2 separate regions of the Homo sapiens genome follow, and region 1 is linked to region 2. The links are contacts of gene promoters, found by promoter capture Hi-C in human tissues and cell types (Jung and others, 2019). All regions are on one chromosome and are shown on one strand. Each heading gives the region's core, a stretch centred on a gene start or on the middle of the fragment in contact. The rest is flanking DNA. Distances are from core to core; before and after follow the strand shown.

What was found. The method cuts DNA at HindIII sites, captures the fragments that hold promoters and counts their contacts. A contact is called where the count stands out against the background at its distance.
Region 1: a contact is called between a fragment that was not itself captured here and the fragment with the promoter of RYR3 in region 2, in 3 of the 25 tissues and cell types used here (aorta, heart left ventricle and hippocampus).

The regions. Positions count from the first base shown.
Region 1 is chr15:33,420,063-33,425,689 of GRCh38, reverse strand. All of the region lies in intron 1 of RYR3 (ryanodine receptor 3), which reads right to left. Among named protein-coding and RNA genes, the nearest start is that of RYR3, 110 kb to the right of the region's middle. The HindIII fragment of the contact is 4,994 bases long and covers 999-5,627 here.
Region 2 is chr15:33,307,930-33,313,395 of GRCh38, reverse strand. RYR3 (ryanodine receptor 3) reads right to left here and starts at 2,429. Exons shown (of 104, transcript NM_001036.6): 1 at 2,300-2,429. The coding sequence starts at 2,350. It overlaps RYR3-DT (RYR3 divergent transcript), which reads left to right and starts at 2,737. Exons shown (of 3, transcript NR_120327.1): 1 at 2,737-2,818. RefSeq lists enhancers at 1,187-1,696, 1,697-2,208. The HindIII fragment of the contact is 9,811 bases long and covers 1-5,466 here.

The sequences.
Region 1 (5,627 bases), core at 2,246-4,745, 110 kb before region 2:
AGCCTGGGCCACAGAGCGAGACTCCATCTCAAAAAAAAAAAAAAAAAAAAAATTGTGAGTCTCAACCTAGTAGAAGCTTCAGACCAAATGGTGTCAGAAAACAGACTGTAGACTATAGCAGACAACACAGGGTTATTTTGTTGGTGTTTACTTCTGAATTGCTACCTATTGTGGTCTCCCTCTTGAATCCTTTGCAAACAGCAGGATTTCTCTTCTCTCTGTAGTTTTAGATTTCACCAGAAATTCAGAAGCTGAGTCAGGACTACATGTGGCCCCATCTGCCAAGCAAGAAGGCTGAACTGTTTTGGAAATACAATGACGACAGGAGGAGTCAGAATTTCCCACAGCCTCTCCAGCAAACAGACAGACTACAATTGCTCCAACTAGATTTTACATTCCTCAAAGCCACAGGACAAGCAAGAACATTTATCTTGAAAAGCCTCATTAACAGAAACATCTTATGCAATTCTTTATCTCCTTTAGGGGGCTATTAAAGTGACTTACACCAACTGGGTATTCAACAGAGTTGCTGAATAAGTAAAACGCGGTGGAGATCAACACTAGCACACAGGATTCATCCATGGTGCACTTTTAAGGAGTCTGTTGACTGTATGGCCACATGAAAGGACAGGTAAGTTTCAAGATGTGGAAACTCTTCCCACAATCCTAACCATGCCAAGTTAGAAAACAAGGGAATGGGGCTGATTGCTGTAGGTAAAGTTATTCCCATATTCCCATTTTCTTCTTCTTGTTTTTCAAAATGTTGCCAGGCTGGACTCAAACTCATGGGCTCAAGTGATTTTCCTGCCTTAGCCTTCCAAGTAGCTGGGGCTACACGCACACACCACCATGCCCGGCTTCTCATCTTTGCATCTTGATAGAGGCCCTATAGTGCTCATCATATAAATAAGATATGATAAATAAGATAAATAAGACACAGAAGAGTTCACAAAAACCCCCATGTGATGACAGATAATCACTCTAACAGAGATAGGTGAGCCTAGACCCAGTCCAATATATGCCAGGTGGGGCTTCAGAGAGAGGAATCTTTTTATAGGCTTCAGAGAAAGGATAATTTCCTTAAATGTGGCTCAATCAGGCAGATGGGAGAGCATGCACTGAGCTATCAGTCACATGCTTATCTGGTCTACACTGGCCAGTGGCTTAGGAGGGCAGCAGACAAGGCTAGCGACCTACGCTGCAAAGGGCCTCTTACAAAGTACCAAACAGTTTGAAGTTTGTTTTGAGAAAACAGAAATTTGAAGTGGCTCAAGCAGAGAAGTTCCATAATCAGGTTTTTAGAAAAATAACTCTGCAGGCAGTATTAATAGCACCCCAACTAACCCCATTTGTCTATGTGCCAAGCAATGTACTAAGGGCTTGACCTGTCTTGTCTTCACAATAGCCCTGTTGGGTAGGCAATGTTGTCCTCTTTTATAGGTAAAGAAACAGGTGTTCACTGAGATTAACTGACTTGTCTGAAGTGTCATGGCTAGTAGTGGCAGAGCTGGGACTCAGACCAGGTTCTCATTCTGATGCCTGTGCACTTAAGCACTATGCTGTACTGCCTGCAGTATTTAGGAGGAATGAGAAAAAGAGGAGATCAGGAAATGAGGGAACAGTTTGCAAGCCACTGTACTAGTCTAGCCCAGAGACTAGGGACATCTGAACCAGGGCAAGGAGAGTTCACCAAGAGTACTAGCAAGGCATATTGACATGGCCAAGAGCTGCCGTTTAGCAAACTGATCCTGGGTGCATTGGAGGATATTTCAGAGCAACGGGTTTTCTTACTTTAAAATTTTTAGAAGAATGCTTCAACTGACAAGCCTTAACTTGGAAATAAAAGTCTATAATCAATTATTTTCTATGGCAAAAATAGGAACACTTAAGAAACCTCATGAACAAAAATGTGTTCAAAGCTTATTACTCACTACAAAATATTTTTGCATATTCCAAATCCAGGGTGCATAAGAGCACAATGAGATTCTACTTCACACCCACTAGGATGGCTATGACAATATTAAAAAAAAAACCTGGAAAATAATAAATGTTGATAAAGATGTGGAGAAATCAGAATCCTCGTACATTGCTGGTGGAAGTGTAAAATGGTAAACAGTGGAAAACAGTTTGGTGGGTCCTCAAAAAGTTAAATGTAGAATTACCATGTGACCCAGAAACTCCACTTCTAGGTATATATCCAAAGGAACTGAAAGCAGGAACTCAAACAGATGCTTACAGGCCAATTCACAATAACCTAAGGTGGAAACAATCAAAGTGTCTGTCAACAGATAAATGGATAAACAAAATACAGTCTATACATACAATTGAATTTTATTCAGCTATAAAAAAGGAATGAAGTTCTGATACATACTACAACATGGATAAACTCTGGAAACATTTTGTTAAGTGAAATAAGTCAGACACAGAAAGACAAATATTATATAATTTCAATTATATGAAATTTCTAGAATAGGCAAATCCATAGACACAGAAGGTAGATTTGAGATTACCAGGGGCTGGAGGCAGGGATGGAGAGTTATTGCTTAATGGTTGCAAAGTCTCTATTTGTGGTAATGGAGATGTTTTGGGAATAGTGGTGATGGTTGTAAAACATTGTGTAAGTACTTATTACCACTGAATTTTAACCATTAAAATTAAAACTTGTTAAAATGGCAAACTCAATGTTATATATATGTTACAATTTAAACTCCCTTGAAGCAAAATAAAAACACTAATATGCAAAGTTTTCTCAACTACTACAAGAGGGAATAAATGCAACCTTGTCTTGTCTTTAGGTCTATGTCAAATGCAAATATGCTTAGAACTAGATGCCTTTAAAATATATTATTCAAACCAATTCAATGGCTTTCTGCAGGCTAATATTTAAACTGTTTTACAGGGGATACAAGGCCTCTGCTGATCTGGTTCCTACTTACCTGTCCAAGCCCAGGTTCATCTCTCATACTACCTCTGCTATCTATAAATTCATGGCCCCACGATACAGAAGAGTCCCAGGATGTGCGAGGTTCTCTCCTCTCTCTCTCTGCTTGCCCACGCAGTTCTGTGTATTTAGAAAGGGCTCACATACCACCCCTACCCCAACTCTTATCATCTAGCCTAATGAATCCATGATCAAGCCTTCCCCACACTTCTGAAGCTCCTTTACCCATGGCCCATTACCTTGATTTATCCCTCTGCAATGGCAATCACAATATTCCAATTCCTCATTTGCATGTCTGTATTCTACTACACTGTTACTTTATTAAGAACAGGAAATATGCCATTCCATATTTCTCTACAAGGACTAGTATTCCATAAATGGTTTTTAAATAAATGAGCAAGAGACTAAGCCCAGCACTCAGCTGGGGAGTAAAGATTCTGATCACCTGTATTCTAAGATGAAGTCACTCACTGCTGCTGCCTCATTGTCCTTCAGTGGACACCAAGTTTAAGTATGAATACCAGGTGTCAAGTAATAAAACAAAAACAAAAAAACCATCAAAGTCAGAAAAGCCTCAAAGGATCACCCCCACAGTGAGACTATCCACACAAACTGGAACCTGAGGAAGTTCTGAGAAGGCAAGTGGGAAGGAGTTTATTGAAAATGTGCTCCATGTGAAACAGAATTGTTCAATTATAATAATGAACTGAAGTAGCACTGCAGTGAAGGAAGCAAAATCTTAAGGTGAAGAGTAAAAATGTTAGTAATCACCCAATACTACCAACCTCAAAAAATGAGTAATTTGATTATTCTTATCTAAATATGTCTGTTTCCAAGCAGGTCTTCCACATTTTATGGGACTAAATTAAACCTCTTTTAAAATTCATCCGTTTTTCTTTGTTCTGCTTCTACATCTGACAATTGGGTTACTCTGAAGTTCTACCTAACAGATGGAACTGATATAAATAGGGGATTTTCCAGTCATCGGAAATAAATGCTTCTAAATAATAATTCACAGAATAATACTCAGATTTATAAACTCCTGTGAGTTTGGTCACTATGAATTAGGGCCTCATCAGCATGACCTAGGTTATTTGATTATTACTCTTAGAGGTCTAAGAGTAAGCTCATTGTCTCCTACTGATCTTTCAAAAACCCCTCCTCTGCCAGCATTCCTTATTTCACACCATCTACCTTTGTTTGGGAACCAGAAACCTAGACATCATCCTAGAGGCTTCCTTCGCCTTTTTATTGTCCACATCCGATTCTCACCAAGCCCCTATAACCTTTCCCAAACCATACAGATTAGATTACTTCCATCCTCAATGTCGTTATCCTAGTCCAGGCCTTGGTTTTTCACCTGGATTCATACAACAACTCCAAATTGATCTCTGTGTCTTTAGTCTTGTCTCCTTTCAACCTACCTCTAGGCTCAGACTCATTGCAAAAGCAGCTCTAATTAGATAACTCCCTTGCATGAGGTCCTTCTAAATACCTTACACAATCAATGACATCTTCTAATATCTGTCCTCTGCCTCTCTCTCTGGTCTCCTTATGCACCCCTTTGAAATCTAAAATTCAGCTTCATTCCGTTTCTCCTCCAATTCACCAGGATCTTTCTTAGTTCCAGGCCTTTACTACAGAAAGAATGAATGAATAGTAAGTGAAATCCCTCCTCTCATGGCTCCCCAAATTGACCTTTTTGGCCTGGATAACCCATTCAGGACTCAGTCATCTTTGTAAGGTAATTTTCCCTAAAGAAGCAAGACCCCCAAGAAAAATTTAGGCACACCTCCTCAGTCTCCAGCACACTGCATGGTACAGGGCAGGTACTCAAAAATGCCTGCAGAATGACTGCTTACCATCACAGCAGGTAGGTAATGGACATGGTGGGATTTCATTTTACCAACAGTAGGTTCTGATCTAGATTATTTTTGCTTTCCTACTTCCATATCTGCATATTTCATCAAGGGGCCTTATCAGAAGCAACAGCTTCCTTTCTTATAAGGTAGGCAAAGAACTAGACAAATAAACAGCAGCTCAGTTTTTAAAATTTGTGAGATTGTTTTAAAAAAAAAATCGAAGGAAAAGAACATGCTGCAAATTTAGAGATCTGATTCTAGTGCTCCATCTGTCCCTGACTTGCTTTGCTGAAACTGACTTCTTGTGCCTTAACTTCGTCTGCAAAATAAGGATAGATTTCTACCTCATCAGGATGTTGCAAGAACAAATAAGACACAACATGAAGGTACCTCCACTCTGAATGGAATGGTCTACAAGAAATCCAGCAGATTCACCTTGCTCTTCTATGTCAATATAAAAATATTAATCAACTTACAAGTAACATCACAAACAAATGTATTATGTTTTGTGGGACTTATAAACAGGCCCTGGGCTTGAGACCCCATCGTCACCTGCTAAACACTCAAACCCCTGACATTCTGATTCTTCTGTTGGTTGCTTTGCTGCAGATAAGGAGGAACCCAATTATATTTTCTTTTTAAGCTTTGCTGGATGCCCAACACATCCATTTCCCCTCTCCCACTCTCTATGCAATGCAAATTCTTAAAACAAGGCTTGATTCTCCAAAGGAGAAAGTGTGATTATGGTAACACATTAAGAATTGCTGTGGAAAGTCACCTATTGTCTGATAAATTCATAATTATAGGTTGCATCTCTGTTCTCT
Region 2 (5,466 bases), core at 1,180-3,679:
CCTCTTATGTTCTTAGGTATATTCTTAAGACTATATATAACATCTGGCGTAACGCTCAATGCCAGGCTCTAGCGGGAATGTAATTGAACATTGTATAATGAAAATTACCAATAACTTGTCAACAGCTATGTTCAAGTCACTCGATTTCCTGTGCTTCAGTTTCATCACCTATTTCCTTCCCAGTGAGCTAAAAACAAAGATGTTAAGGTGCCTCATAGGGTGAAGAAATGAGGAACACACCTTAAAAAATACATAAGGTGATAACTAGAAGGAAAAGAACCAATAACGCCACATTTGGAGTCACTGCCCCCATGGTTACCACCATCACTCGCTCTAAGCCATAACCGGTATGCAGTTCTCTGCAACAGGGGCTCTGAACCTGGGTCCTTGAACCCCACAGGCTGTCATGGGTGTACTTTAAAAGAGGTCTGCCAGCTCTGATCTCTAGGGCAGGAAGCCCAGGACACAAAACTTAAGAACCACTACTATAGTAAACCTTGGCTACAGGTGTACCAAAAACAAACAAAAACAAAAAACACTTACAATGCCAGATGGAGAGGAAAAGTCAGGGAAGATGGCTCAGAAGCCAAGAGAAAAGCATAAGGATCTCACAACAACTACCACCTTCCTAAGCCTCAACTCCCTGGGACATCTATTCAACACTGACCCTGTCTGAAGATAATTTTTTCAAGCAATAACGCCTAGAAGATCATTAATAATAAGGAGAAGAAATGACTGATCATGGAGGACACAAGGCAGAAAAAACCTGAGCTGCCACCCATCCACTACTAAAGACACCTGTCAGAGGGACAACCAAAGGATTTGATGGAGCTTTGAGGGGAGCAGGCAGCTTTATAACAATAGGGTTGTCATGAGTTGCAACTGTGGGGCCATCTTGTGTGCAGTGTGAGAGATGAGAATGGAGTCTGGGTCTGCAGGTCAGACGAAGGATGAAGAGATGAATACTCTAGCCTCTCAGTAGTACCAGCAGGGCGATAGGTACTTCCATACCCCCCCCAAATAAGACCCAAGTCCCAGCTTTGACAAAAGAACCATGTTTGGAAGAGAAACTGAAGTAAATTGGAAGGAAGCGCTTCAACAGGAGGAGAGTGGTTCAAAAGATGGACAAGAGGTAAGTTGTGATCTTCGAAGACCAGGTCATGGAGAAGGGGGCACCCTTAAAGGGAAGTGAGAGAGGGAAAGAAAGAATTTCATTCTAATTCCTGAGAGCAAGGCAGCGCATATAAAATTACCTAAGATTTACAGAGCGATTTGCCGTTTACAAAACATTATGACATTCACGATAACGTTTAATCCTTATCACCCTGAAACGCTGGTTACATTTTATTTTACACATGAGGAAACTGAGGCTGAGTAGGGCGGATTATGCGACTTGCTCAAGGTCACTTGGCTGAAGTCAGCGCTAGGATGCATCCCCAATGCCCCCACCCCTCCGGGTGGCCGTCCACCCTGAAAGTCTTTGTATTATCTCCTACAGGGCAAGGCTGGTGTGGCTGCAACAGACTTCGCCCCCTCACCCCCAAATCTGGGACGGAGCAGCGCCCTCAGGTGTCAAGGAGGGGACCTGAGTGACGCGGAGCCACTGACTGGGGTTTCCCTGTCCTGCGGGGCTCGCGGGAGCCAGGAGCAGAAGCCACAGCTCTCGAACACACGACAGGCAGTCAGTCAAGTCAGGCTCCAGCAGCAGTTGCCGGCGTGGGGCTTAACACGAGAGGGGCAGCGCTGGGTGAATTCCCCTCCGAGCGATCCCAGGGCTAGGACCAAGCGCCTGCGCCCGCTTCTCCGACCCGGCTCCCCACACTCCCCCCTGCCCCGCTGGCTCCTTCCCGGAGGTTCCCCTGTGCGTGGGGGCGCCCTGGAAGAGGAATGGGGCTGGGGTGGAGTATGGAGGTGTCAGAGGGCCGACCCCGGGGCGAGGGCTTCCAACGCCGATCTTATGGGTCAGGACAACCGCGAACAAACCCCGGCTGAAGTTTGGGCATCAAGGGTTTCAGACCAAGTAGCAAGTTGCCTGGAGAGCGAGCGGTCCTAGGTGGAGGGCCTGGGGCAGGGGTGGCGGTAGGGGAACAAGGGAGAGGCAGGAGATGGTGCCCCTTCCCACGCAGCCCCTCGCGGCCCCGCGGGTAGGTGGCCGGTCCGCCTCTGCAGCCCGCGGGTGCGGAGAAAGCGCCCGGCACCGGGCACCCGGCACCGCGGCGCAGCGCAGCCAGCCCCTCCTCGCCGCGCTCCGCGCTCCTCCCCACCTGCCCACGGCCTCGCCCCCGCCGCGGAGACTCACAGTCCTCAGAAACTGGATCTCGTCCTCGCCTCCTTCTCCCCCTTCGGCCATGGCTCCCGAGGCGTCGGCGGTGCCCCAGCCTCCGGCGCCTCTGCTTCCCCCGGCAGCCGCTCGGCGTGCGCTGACTGCTGCTGCGCTCTTTCTCCTCCTCCTTTTCGTCCTCGTCCTCCACCTCCTCCTCCAGCTCCTGGCTCAGCCTCAGCCTCAGCAGCGCCAAGCTAATCCCCGACCATATAGGGAGCTGGGCTAACACTCCACTGCACTGCAGAGCGCCAACGCCAACCAAGCAGTCCGCCCACCCCTCTCGCCTCTCGCCCCAGCCAAGTGCGCTGCGGCCGCCCGCTCCGTGGAGAGCGCAACGCTGGGCGCGTCGAGCTGGCGGGGGCGGTGCGGGGGCCCTGGGCTGGCGCGGTGGAGCCTCCCCCGCACCGCTGGGTACCGCACCGCACACTCAGCGGAGGCGCGCGCCCCGCGGCGACCGGAGGATGTCCCCTAAACTGCTCCAATTCACAAACAAAGGCCAGTTGCTTAGCTCCAGCGCGCCCAGACTGGGTACCAACCCTCTCGCTTTGCTCGCTTTGCCCGCTTTGCCCACTTTGCCTGTGTGTGTGTGTGTGTGTGTGTGTGTGTGTGTGTGTGTGTGACAGAGATAGAGAGAGAGAGAGAGGAAAGAGAGAGACAGAGACAGAGAGAGAGAGAGAGGAAAGAGAGAGACAGAGACAGAGAGACAGAGAGAGGAAAGAGAGAGAGACAGAGACAGAGAGAGAGAGAGAGAGAGAGAGAGAGATCTGGACTCGAATACCTTGCTAGGACCCGCGTGCATTGTTGGGCAAGGAGAAGACGGTGCAGTGAGGAGCGAGGGTGATTGTCCACTTACAACAAAGTTTGCAACTCCCTGGATAGTCCTTTCTACACCTTAAGAGAACCCCTTCCCCTCTTCAAAATTGGTAAGTACACTTTACCAAACCCCTGGATTGTCCAGGGTTGCTGTGACTTCTGTACCCCAGGGAGCTTCTGGGGGATCCTGTGCCACCCTCAATTTGGAAGTCAGGTGGCATCACAACCCTTCCTCTCTGCCCACCCCTAACCTTATTCTGCATTTAGAGTTCCAGCCCTGTGGACTCTAAAGGGAGTAGAGAGTAGTTACAGGAGGCTCCCTTCCAGGTCCTGGAAGGCTCCTACATCCCACCCAGCCTTAGGTCCTTTTCCATGGTTGGGGATTGCCAGATTGGTCCTTGCCTTGACTGACGGTGCAGGGTGCCCCCTTCTGTTTGATGGCCGAGAAGCTCCAAGGCAAGAGACTGTTCAAGGCAAAAGGCACCAGAGATGTAGATTTAGGAGGAAGTGCAACTGGGAAGGTGGTAATTCTGGGCTGATGATGGTGGAAGACACTGGAAACCCCAAGCCATTTCACAGCTTCATATACCGCCTCCTTGTGGACGACATCTATCTCTTGATGCTACCTTAAGATCTCTTTCCTGAGCTTCCGTCCCATATGTTCTGATGAACATCAGAAATGCAAAGAAAAATGTTTTTTTCTTGTATTGTACTCAAACTGCTACCTTCTAGGCTTCAGCTTGGGCCTTGTGCCTCTTCTGAAACCCGCCTAGAATAAGTCAAACCATCTGTACATTGTGGCCCTTCACCTCTTAGAAGGCATCTGCCATGCTTGCCTCTATGGCCCACCATCCACTCTTTTCTTCTCCTGGCTCAAGGTTCTTCTTAGCCCCAACTTTCCCTGTAGTATAGTTTCCAGAGCCTATGTCATCTTTGATGGCCATATGAGCATTCCAGGTGGTCTTCTTCCTGAATTGTTGTGCTCTCCGTCCTTGTTTTGGACAGTCTTTATGTGCAGCCTAATATTGGATTGGCTTCTGGAGAAACACTAATGACACTCACTGTGTTTGGAGTTAACTAGAATTTCTAGATTTACTTTTTTCCTCCCACGTGAACTGCAAAAGTCAGCTCTTCTCCATCTTGATCACATGCAAGTGCTTGAGTACCTGTGGGCACGGTGGCTCACGCCTATAATCTCAACACTTTGGGAGGCCAAGGCGGGTGGATCACCTGAGGTCGGCAGTTCGAGACCAGCCTGACCAACATGGAGAAACCCCATTTCTACTAAAAAAAAAAAAAAAATACAAAATTAGCCGGTCGTGGTGGTGCATGCCTGTAATCCCAGCTACTTGGGAGGCTGAGGCAGGAGAATCGCTTGAACCCGGGAGGTGAAGATTGCCGTGAGCCGAGATCATGCCATTGCACTCCAGCCTGGGCAACAAGAGCGAGACTCTGTCTCAAAAATATGTGTGTGTGTGTGTGTGTGTGTGGGTGGGTGTGTGTGTGTTCCTTCCAATTGTAATACCCAATCATGTATTGATGTCTCTATATGTGAACCTTTAAGGTATTTTTAAAGCTAGAGTATGCCAGGCAAGGTGCTAATTATTACTAACCTGTGATATGGCATACCTTCAGAATACTAATAGAGGCCCTCTTGGATTAACTTTCATACTTTTGATTATGCTTAATATGGCATACCTTCAGAATACTAATAGAGGCCCTGTTGGATTAACTTTCATACTTTTGATTATGCTTATTTAATGATCAAGAACTTACCTAAGTCAGAAAAATAATACCTATTGAGTACTATGCTTATTACCTGCGTGACAAAATAATCTGTACACCAAACCTCCATGACATGCAGTTTACTTATGTAACAAACCTACATATGTACCCTTGAACCTAAAATAAAAGTTATAATTAAAAAATAACCTACATAAATATATTATTTTGCAGCCCAAATTTCTTCTTGTTCATAGGGCTACTATAAATGCCTTTCTTACATACTTTACTGAAATACAGATATGTAATCTGGGACACCACCTCCCGCATCAGTCAAATAACCCTACCACAAAAGAAGTAAGAATGGAGTTCTGTAACACCATTGGTGCATCCACTTGGATTCCTGATGGTCTTTGTGTTCCTTTAGAGTTCCCAAAAGTAAGCTGTTTAATTATCAAAATCTAAGATTGTTCTGGAGCTCAGCGTATAAAAGAGTCTCAGGCTGTTGTTTCAGACTGTAAACTGGGGAAGGTGGACATTTACTTCTATTTGAAATCTATTGGTACTTCTTCCATTCTCTAAGATTTCCCAAAGATGCACCAATAATG